Regions from separate parts of the Homo sapiens genome. Here region 1 is linked to region 2. The links are contacts of gene promoters, found by promoter capture Hi-C in blood cells and fetal thymus (Javierre and others, 2016). All regions are on one chromosome and are shown on one strand. Each heading gives the region's core, a stretch centred on a gene start or on the middle of the fragment in contact. The rest is flanking DNA. Distances are from core to core; before and after follow the strand shown. Region 1 overlaps NPHP3-AS1 (NPHP3 antisense RNA 1). Region 2 holds the start of TMEM108-AS1 (TMEM108 antisense RNA 1).

The links. Contacts are between HindIII fragments. The CHiCAGO score rates a contact against its expected background, and 5 or more counts as called.
Region 1: a fragment that was not itself captured here is called in contact with the fragment with the promoter of TMEM108-AS1 in region 2 in 2 of 17 cell types (megakaryocytes and endothelial precursors); the score reaches 12.0 in megakaryocytes.

Annotation. Positions count from the first base shown.
Region 1 is chr3:132,724,571-132,729,008 of GRCh38, reverse strand. NPHP3-AS1 (NPHP3 antisense RNA 1) reads right to left here. Exons shown (of 11, transcript NR_002811.2): 2 at 1,427-1,516. Among named protein-coding and RNA genes, the nearest start is that of NPHP3-ACAD11, 4.3 kb to the right of the region's middle. The HindIII fragment of the contact is 980 bases long and covers 2,314-3,293 here.
Region 2 is chr3:133,255,821-133,260,172 of GRCh38, reverse strand. TMEM108-AS1 (TMEM108 antisense RNA 1) reads left to right here and starts at 3,052. Exons shown (of 3, transcript NR_110812.1): 1 at 3,052-3,148. The region is part of intron 3 of TMEM108 (transmembrane protein 108); the gene reads right to left. The HindIII fragment of the contact is 5,600 bases long and covers 2,722-4,352 here.

The sequences.
Region 1 (4,438 bases), core at 1,554-4,053, 530 kb after region 2:
TCCCTACTGGAACAACTGTCTCAGACCAGTGAAATGTGCACACTTTGACCTGTGGCCTTAAGTGTCTTCTTCACAGTGCCCAAGGATAGATGTGTTCCTGGATAATCTGAGTTAATATGTTGAAAGCGTATTTCCAAAGACTACATATTACAGTGGCATTTGAGTTGTTTAGTCTGCATTTAGCATAAACAGCATTCAGCTGTGTGCTAAGCTGAACCAATAGCCACCTTGTCTAACGCTGTTTCTTGAGGAAATATGCTTCAAATACTAAATATCAGATTTTTAAATTAATCGCTGGAATGCTGGAACACAACTTCTTTCTAAATTGGGGTTATAACTCACATATAAACTCCCCTTAATTATGATGAGAATTAATAAAATTTTGTAACTGTAAGTAAATCTTATCTAAAAGATAAAATCTTTTTTTTTTTTTTTTTTTTTTTTGAGACAGGGTCTCACTCTCACTGTACTCTCACTGGAGTACAGTGGCACGATCCTGGCTCACTGCAGCCTCCACCTCCCAGGCTTAAGCAACCCTCCCACCTCAGCCTCCCGAGTAGTTGGGACTACAGGTGTGCATCACCACGCCTGGCTATTTTTTTTATTTTTTGTAGACAGTGGGTTTCACCGTGTTCCCCAGTCTGGTCTCAAACTCCTGGCTCAAGCAATCCACCTGCCTTGGCCTCCCAAAATTCTGGGATTACAGGCATGAGCCAGCACGCCGGGCTGTTTTAAGCTCTTACAGTTACAATCAGCCACTTTTATTCATACATTACTTGTGAAGAGATTTTTTTTCCCCTTGCAACTACAAATGTCAGCTGACTCTTTTCTCTGTGGCTGATTTATGTCAGAAAAGGCACATCTCAAATGTATACAGTAGTGAAGACTTCATCTCTCCTTCATAGGAGCTAATTGAATATGGCGCCTCATCTTCATCCTGGCATGTGGGCATTGAGTGTAAGAAAAAATAATAGTCACTAATGACAACCTGAAGTGGGTGCTGGTTACTAGGTTTGGGATAGATGGCTCCATAGAAGAATTTAAGATTATATTCAACTTCACAGATGAACATGAGGCAGAGGCGGAGAGAGGTCGGAGAATAGCCTTGAATTTGAGAAACAAAGGGACATTTCTCAGCAAATAAGAAATAAATGGCTTCTTTCATCCTAGAGGCTGTTATGGAGAAATAGAACCCCTTTATTTGTTAAACAAATATCCCAAATGTGCAGTATGCTTTATACAGGACCACAGGTAAACATATTGGCTATGGTATTCTTAACAAAACCCATTGCAGCTCTTCTTAAAGCATGGCCTTCTATATATCCATATATTTGATTAGCCCAAGGGGAAACAGCCCAGGGAAACACTATCGTTAGAACACATACTTCATAAAAGAATGGATACCCCATATTTAAAATATTCTTACCCCATTTCCCTGTCCAGTGCATGTGGATGTGTTGCCTTTGTTTCACTCTTGCACCCACCTTGGCACTAAACTCCTCTTCTTCACCAATTCCTGAAAAAAAAAATAGGTCACAGCAAGTTTTTCAGAATTTGTAAACTTATTGAACATTTGGGACATTTTTTTAGGAGATACTACACAGCACTCCAGCATTTCTCTTATCGCTTTTCCTTCTCCTTTACTGTTTTCATCAATGTCTTCTCCTTCCTTGTTCAATTTAATTCAGTATGCCCCTCTGTCTGTTAGGACAGGCTGGGTTGTTCTCTGGCCAAAATAATCTGAACACTAGGGCCTTAATACAAACATTTACAGAGGAATGAGCCTTTCATTGATGTACTTTCAGAGTAGTTATAGAGATTATCTAAGCCTAAGCTTCACATTTATATCTTTTATACCATGGATAGTTATTCAGATACTAAAAACATTGTAACAAGGTGGACTTTACGGTTTCCTAAGAGGTAAAGTTAACTTTATTTTGTCCTAATGGTTCCTAAATTAGTATTTGCTTCTAAATCAAAAGATAACTTTAAAAAATTCAGATATGTGAGCTCTACTTAAAAACATTTGGATTCGGTGGACTTGATGTGGGGTCCATGGCTCTACATTTTTAACAAGCTCCCCAGGTAATTATCCAGGTTTGAGAACCACTCCTCCAGTTCAGGGGTCAGCAAACCTGTGAGCTAAATTCAACCAGTCACCAGTTTTTTAAAATAAAGTTTTACTGGAATGCAGACACGCCATTTGTTTGTGTATGGTGTGGGGCTGCTTTTGTGCTATAATGGTAGAATTGAGTAATGTGACAGAGACTAAAGACTGAAATATTTACTATTTGGTCCTTTATAGAAAAAGCTTGCTGATCCTACTCTTGTCTGTTTCATAATAATTTCCAGAGTCATGTTATTACTTGTGATGGGAACTAAGTAAGGCAGTGTAGATGACTGTTAATGAAGGCAACACCCAGACTGTCGTCTTCACAAGGTGATCCTTTTTAATACATACAGCCAAATTATTTTTTTCCTGAGTTACACTGACCCCTAATGGTAGAAATGTTAAATCACAGCTGCTTGATCACAGTTTTCCCCTATTGTTAATTAGTTCCTAAAATTAGGGTCATACTTACAGACTTTGTAGTAGGAGACTTTAGAAGTCAGAGTTCACTTGGTAGAACTGAGCAGGACTAAACAGCCTGGGAGAAGGTTGGCAATTTTGGTGAGAGCTAGAATCCCTTCCTTTTGCAGAGTTCCTTTGTCTTCAAAGACTGTTACTCAATGAAGCATTTCCAATTATACAGGTCATTTATTCCAAAGTGATAAATTTTATCAGGACATTATGACCATTTGTGATGCCATGTCTATCTCTAAAGTTGAAGCACAATACTATCGATATAGTCAAAATTACATTTGCCTTCACTATGATGAACTGCGAAGAAAGGTCACAGAGGAATCTGTATACATGTAAACAGATACTGAGATGGTTACCAATGGGGATCACACACATGTTGGCAATAATGAGATGGCCGAGGTGAAACCATTGGTTTTTAACCTTGACTACTGATTAAAATCCGCTGGGGAGCTTTAAAAAATTAATGATGTTCAGACCTCAACTCCTGGAAATTCTGATCTAATTGGTCTAGGGTGAGGCCCAGGCAGCAGTCTTTATTTTTTTAAGTTCTCCAGGTGATGGTAATGTGCAGCCAAGGTTAAGAACCATTTTTCTACAGTAGTGCTTCTCAAATTTTAATCTATATTCACATCACCTGGGAGATCTTTTTAATCTGCAAATTGTGATTCAGGAGGTCAGTGATAGCATGTGAGAATCTGATTAACAAGCTTCAGGGTGATGTTGATGCTACTGCCTGAGGACCATGCTTTGAGTAGCGAGGAATTAGATCATCCCTAGCCACAATTTTTATGCAGTCTCAGTGTTCTGAGATCCTAAAGTACATAAGCATCACCTGGGAAGTAACTAAACATGCAAAATTGTCAAGGTCCCCAAATTTTTACCAAATGTCCCAAGTGATTGTGAGATTCATAGTCTGAAGACCAAATACACACTACTCTACCCAAATGATATTTATTCTACCAATCCCATTTAAAAAAAAATGGCAGGCCGGGTGCGGTGGCTCAGGCCTCTAATCCAGGACTTTGGGAGGCCAAGGTGGGTGGATCATGAGGTGAGGAGTTCAAGACCAGCCTGGCCAAGATGGTGAAACCCCGTCTCTACTAAAAATACAAAAAAATTAGCCGGGGGTGGTGGTGCACGCCTGTAATCCCAGCTACTCGGGAGGCTGAGGCAGAAGAATCGCTTGAACCCAGGAGGCAGAAGTTGCAGGGAGCCGAGATCGTGCCACTGCACTCCAGCCTGGGCGAGAGAGCGAGACTCCGTCTCAAAAAAAAAAAAAAGACAGTAGCATTGTTTATCAATTTATAGGCTGCCCGATCAAATGTAGAGACATTTTTTCTTATTCCAGGTGAAAAGACAAATTACCAAAATGTAATGGCTCAAACCAACAGTAATTTTATTATATCTCATGATTTTGTGGGCCAGAAATGTGGGCAGAGGTTGGCTGGGTGATTTTCTCCCCTGTAGTGTATACAGAAGTCACTTAATTTCTAAGTAGTGAATGCACTAGTCTGAAGAGTCCAAGATGGCTTCATTTTACATGTCTTGGTACTCTGGTTGGAAAGCTGGGCCCAGCTGAGACTGTCACCTGGAATGCCTACATATGACCTCTTAATTTGGGCAGTCTCAGGTTAGTAAGTCTTTACATGGTGGCTCAACACTCCCGAGTGTTCCAAGACACAAGAAGTGGAAGTCGCCATTCTCTCAAGACCTGGGCTTGGAAACTGGCACAGTGTCATTTCTGCCACATTCCACTGGTCCAAGCGGTCAGAGTTCACTCAGGTTCAAAGTGAGGAGTCATATACAGGCTTGCTTCATGGCCATGCAACCCCATGTGCAGTAACGCAGGGCCCA
Region 2 (4,352 bases), core at 1,803-4,302:
TGAAAAAATGAAAAGAAGACCCAAACAGTCACAGGTGAGCAGCTTTACAAGCAAGAAAATATTAATGCTTTACTGAAGCAAAGACGCTTAACACCTGGCTCAAGGTGCAGATGAACTGGTACGGTTGTTTCCACATCTGGCAGGAGCCTCACTAATCTCTTTGTGCCTATAAAACCAGTTCTTACTCTTCTTGGCTCTGGGCCCTGCAGATCCTTTCCTGGGCTCTGTTACCACACGCCTTCACCTATCTGGACTCTGAAGAGCCTTCTGTGGGCATCCGCCTATTCTGCACTGACACAGGAACTGCCTCCTTGGCTCTTTGGGCCAAATAAAGAACTGATCTCCTGAGAGACCCATTCCTCCAAGGTTTGTCCTGTTTTTAAGAATCACACCCATACTCCAGGTATTAGTAAACTTTCCTTGCCTCTGTGGTAAGATATCATCACTAGTGGCCACTGGGCCCTGTATCGGGACCCAAAGGTACTCTTGTCCTCCTATTGAAAAATTCTATTTCCTTGAACCCATTATTTCTCCTAACTGCCAATATCAAATAGCTGAAAGAACACCGGGCTTGCAGTCAGAGGCCAGGAATTAAAATCTTAATTCAATTATTTATTTGCAGCCAATTTAACCCTGAGTATTATTTAACCTTATTGAGTCTCAGTTTCCTCAACTGTATAATGGGGATAACACCACCTACCTCTTACGTAAATATGCGAAAGCAGTGGGGCATGCACTTTGTAGGTACTCCACATCTGAGCCAAGGAGGGAGGCTAGTCCAGAACCTGTGGTCTTGCCCACTTCTCAATGGCTTCCTCTAGTGGTTCCTCAAGCATTCATAGGAAAGAGATAATTCCAGAACTCCAGAAGAATTTCACAACACCAAAAACCCTTCTTCGGTCATCAAAACACAATTCTTATAAAGGAAAGAATGACATCTCACCACAGGCTAGAGAAGCAAGCATTAGAAGCAAAATGAAAGAATCAGTCCAGGTTTATTAAAGTACGAAGTGAAACAGATGACAACACTTAATTATGTAAGACTTCTGACTTAGTGGTGGTAATGTATTAAGGCCAATAAGGTCTCCTTGGTAACTGGGAGAAATGTTAGTGGACTTGCTACCCTATATTTAAAAAGCTACCCATCAGGACAGTCTGAGACTGAAGGATAAACCAAGGGAAAAATGAAAGGATTATTGCATATGGGCCTGCAAATACTAAAACAAAAGCAATTATTTTCAAATCATTCTCTCAATCTTACATTTCACTTTTCTATATCTTGTCAGTGAATTTTAAGCCACTTGGAGGCAGAGATCAGTGAATTGTTGCCTACATAACAATTCTAAGAATAAACTTTTTCTCTTGGATAACGTTCTTCAGGCCATGAGGTATGCTCACCTGGTTCCCTCTCCAACTCTCTCTCTGTCTGAATGAAGAGTTCCTTTTGCTTCATGCAAAGTTTTGGGGATGACCACTGAGTCAGAGTGGATACAGTCTGAAGAGGATGAAGAATAGCAGTATGAGGCAGTGGTGATGCCAAACAGCTCTGAATGCTGACTGGTTCTAGGGAATGCACCTCTCTGCCCTCTGAGCTGCAGGGACAGGGAGATGAGCTGGCAGCAGCTGCCTCAGAGATAAGGATGTGAGACACAAACACCTAAGGAATTCCTTTGGACTTCCATCACCCCCCTCCATCCAACTTTATCAAAAGCGAGGTGGTGTGGGCAGCTGGCTCCTTTCAGCCTGGGCCCACCACATGGTATGCTTTCCTGCCTTCACAACATGCCCTTCTTGTAGCTTGATGGAAACTATGGTGAGGATCTTAGTCTGTTAGGGCTGCTATAATAAAATACCAAACAACAGCAATTTACTTCTCATAGTTTTGGAAGCTGAGAAGCCCAAGATCAAGGTGCCAGCAGACTCAGTTTCTGGTGAGGGCCCGCTGGCTGGTTCATAGACCATACCTTCTCACCATGTCTTCAAACGGAGGAAGGGGTGAGAAAGCTCCTTAAGGTCTCTTTTATAAGGGCATTAATCCCATTCACGAGGGATCCACCCTCATGACCTAATCACCTCCCAAAGGCCCCACCTCCAAATACCATCACATTGGGCTTCAGGTTTCAACATATGAATTTGGGGGGATCATAAACATACAGTCTACAGCAGGTTATAAATGGTATTTTCACTATGGGACTCAGGAGCATCTGAATCCTGTCCTACCCATCTCCCTTTAAAGGAGATACATAAAGCAACCCCTCCTTTAGCAAAAATTTTCTGGGCCTCTGGCTTCTTCCAAACAGGGATAGCTCAGTGTTATACACTAAGTAAGTTGTTGCATGAAAAATAAAAAAGAAAAGCCCCTGCACCTGTCTTTCTCAACAGACAACTGGCTGAAGTTTACAACTAGGCAGTATCTACTCCACTTAGTTTAGATACACTACTTAACTACCAGAGAGTTTCATCCCTTTTCATTTGCTCCTTTACTCAGTAACAGCTCTCAAAGATGGGGAAGGAAGAGAGGCATATCTAAGTTTTTAATATTAGTCTAATTTGCCAACTTAAGCTTTCAAATACCACTGAATAAATGACAAGTAGATTCACTGAATTTAGAGGGAGAAACACAATACTTCTTTAGGTTTTGTTTCAGGGGGATCAAGTTTTAAGAGGCAGTGAAATGAAGTCAGGTTCAACTGTTCCAAATTTCTAGACACGAGCAAAGCTTAAGCCATGCAACAATGTATTGCTTTTCTAAGGATTATTAATAATGCATTTGTAACTACTCAGAGACTGGCAATAAACTTTCAGAGAGTGAATAAGAATGTAATCTGTCCACAGCAACATAGACAAATTACTTTGATAAATTCTTTACGAGGGTGCCTCATCTCCTGCAATTCTTGGATTGGTTACAAGTCTATAGTTAATCCTTCAATAACTCCCACAAGCACCTCATTACTCATAATACTGTGACATCCTGAGTTGTAAAAGAGGTGCTGTTATATAACACAGGCACTGTATAGCAGCCTTAGGTTATGAATATTAAGAGACAATCTCAAATGAGATAATATCAATAAAGACCTCCTGTCGTCTCTACCCAAGAAATAAACTAAAGGAAGGCAGTGTCCTTGCAGGCATTTTGACATCAGGGATGGTAAGTACAGGCACTGTTTCCCTTTCAGTTTCATGATTGTCATCCCTCTCACCAAGCCATGACTTTAGAACTATGTTCACGGGTAAGACTGACTCAGTAATTTTACTTTCTCATACTATCATTTTCTGGCTTTTGCATTAAGGTTATAGTAATTTCATGAAGTGAATTGTGGAGCACTTAACTGGCTAGTTTGGTCCATTTACATTTACTGTGCTTACTGACATTTGGATTTATTTCTGCCTTGTCCTACTTATCCAGATTTCTCTATATCTATTTTCCCCTTCTTGATTGCCTTCCTTTGGACTGAGTTTTTTCTTTCTTATTCTAATAGTTCTGTTTTACTGGTTTGGAAGTTATGAATTCTATGTCTTTTAGTAGTTTCCTTGAAATTTTGCCATGCCTACTAAAACTTGACTATGCCTAAGTTAATTGATATATTTTCCATCCTAACAATACAAGGAATTTATAAGACTTTGATTCTCTTCATCCCCTCCCAACTTAACTGCTATTATTGTCTAGTATATTTATTCTGTGTTGTTTTTCATTAACCCCACATATTAGACATTATTATATGTTTCATACAGAAAATGTTTGCTTGGGTTGACTACTATGTTTGCCAATTTCTTTGCTGGCTATTCCTTCTTATATTTAAGACCTTGTTTCTCAGAAGAAATGTTCTTTTTCCTGAGGCATATCTTTTAGAAGTTCTGTAAATGAATGTCCATCTGTGAAAATGTTCTACTTTAAAAAATATCTGAAAATGTCTTTATTTTACCCTCGTGCTTTAATGATTATTTGATCAGATCTTTAATTCCAAGTTGCTGGTTGTTTTCTATCAGCATTTTAAAGATATTATTTCACTGTCTCCTTGATTCTGTGGTGGCTGTTGAGAAGTCAACCATCAGTTTAAATATTATTCCTTTATAAGGAACATTTTCCTCTGGCTGCTTTTAGGATTATCTCTTTATTTGCTGTTTTTATAACCAGGCATGCATGCAGTTCTTGTTGTTTATTTATTTATTTATTTTTGAGAAGGAGACTCACTCTGTCAGCCAGTGCAGAGGCTGGAGTGCAGTGGCATGATCTCGGCTCACTGCAAGCTCCGCCTTCTAGGTTCAAGCAATTCTCCTGCCTCAGCCTCTTGAGTAGCTGGGATGACAGGCGTGCACCACCATGCCTGTCTAATTTTTATATTTTTAGTAGA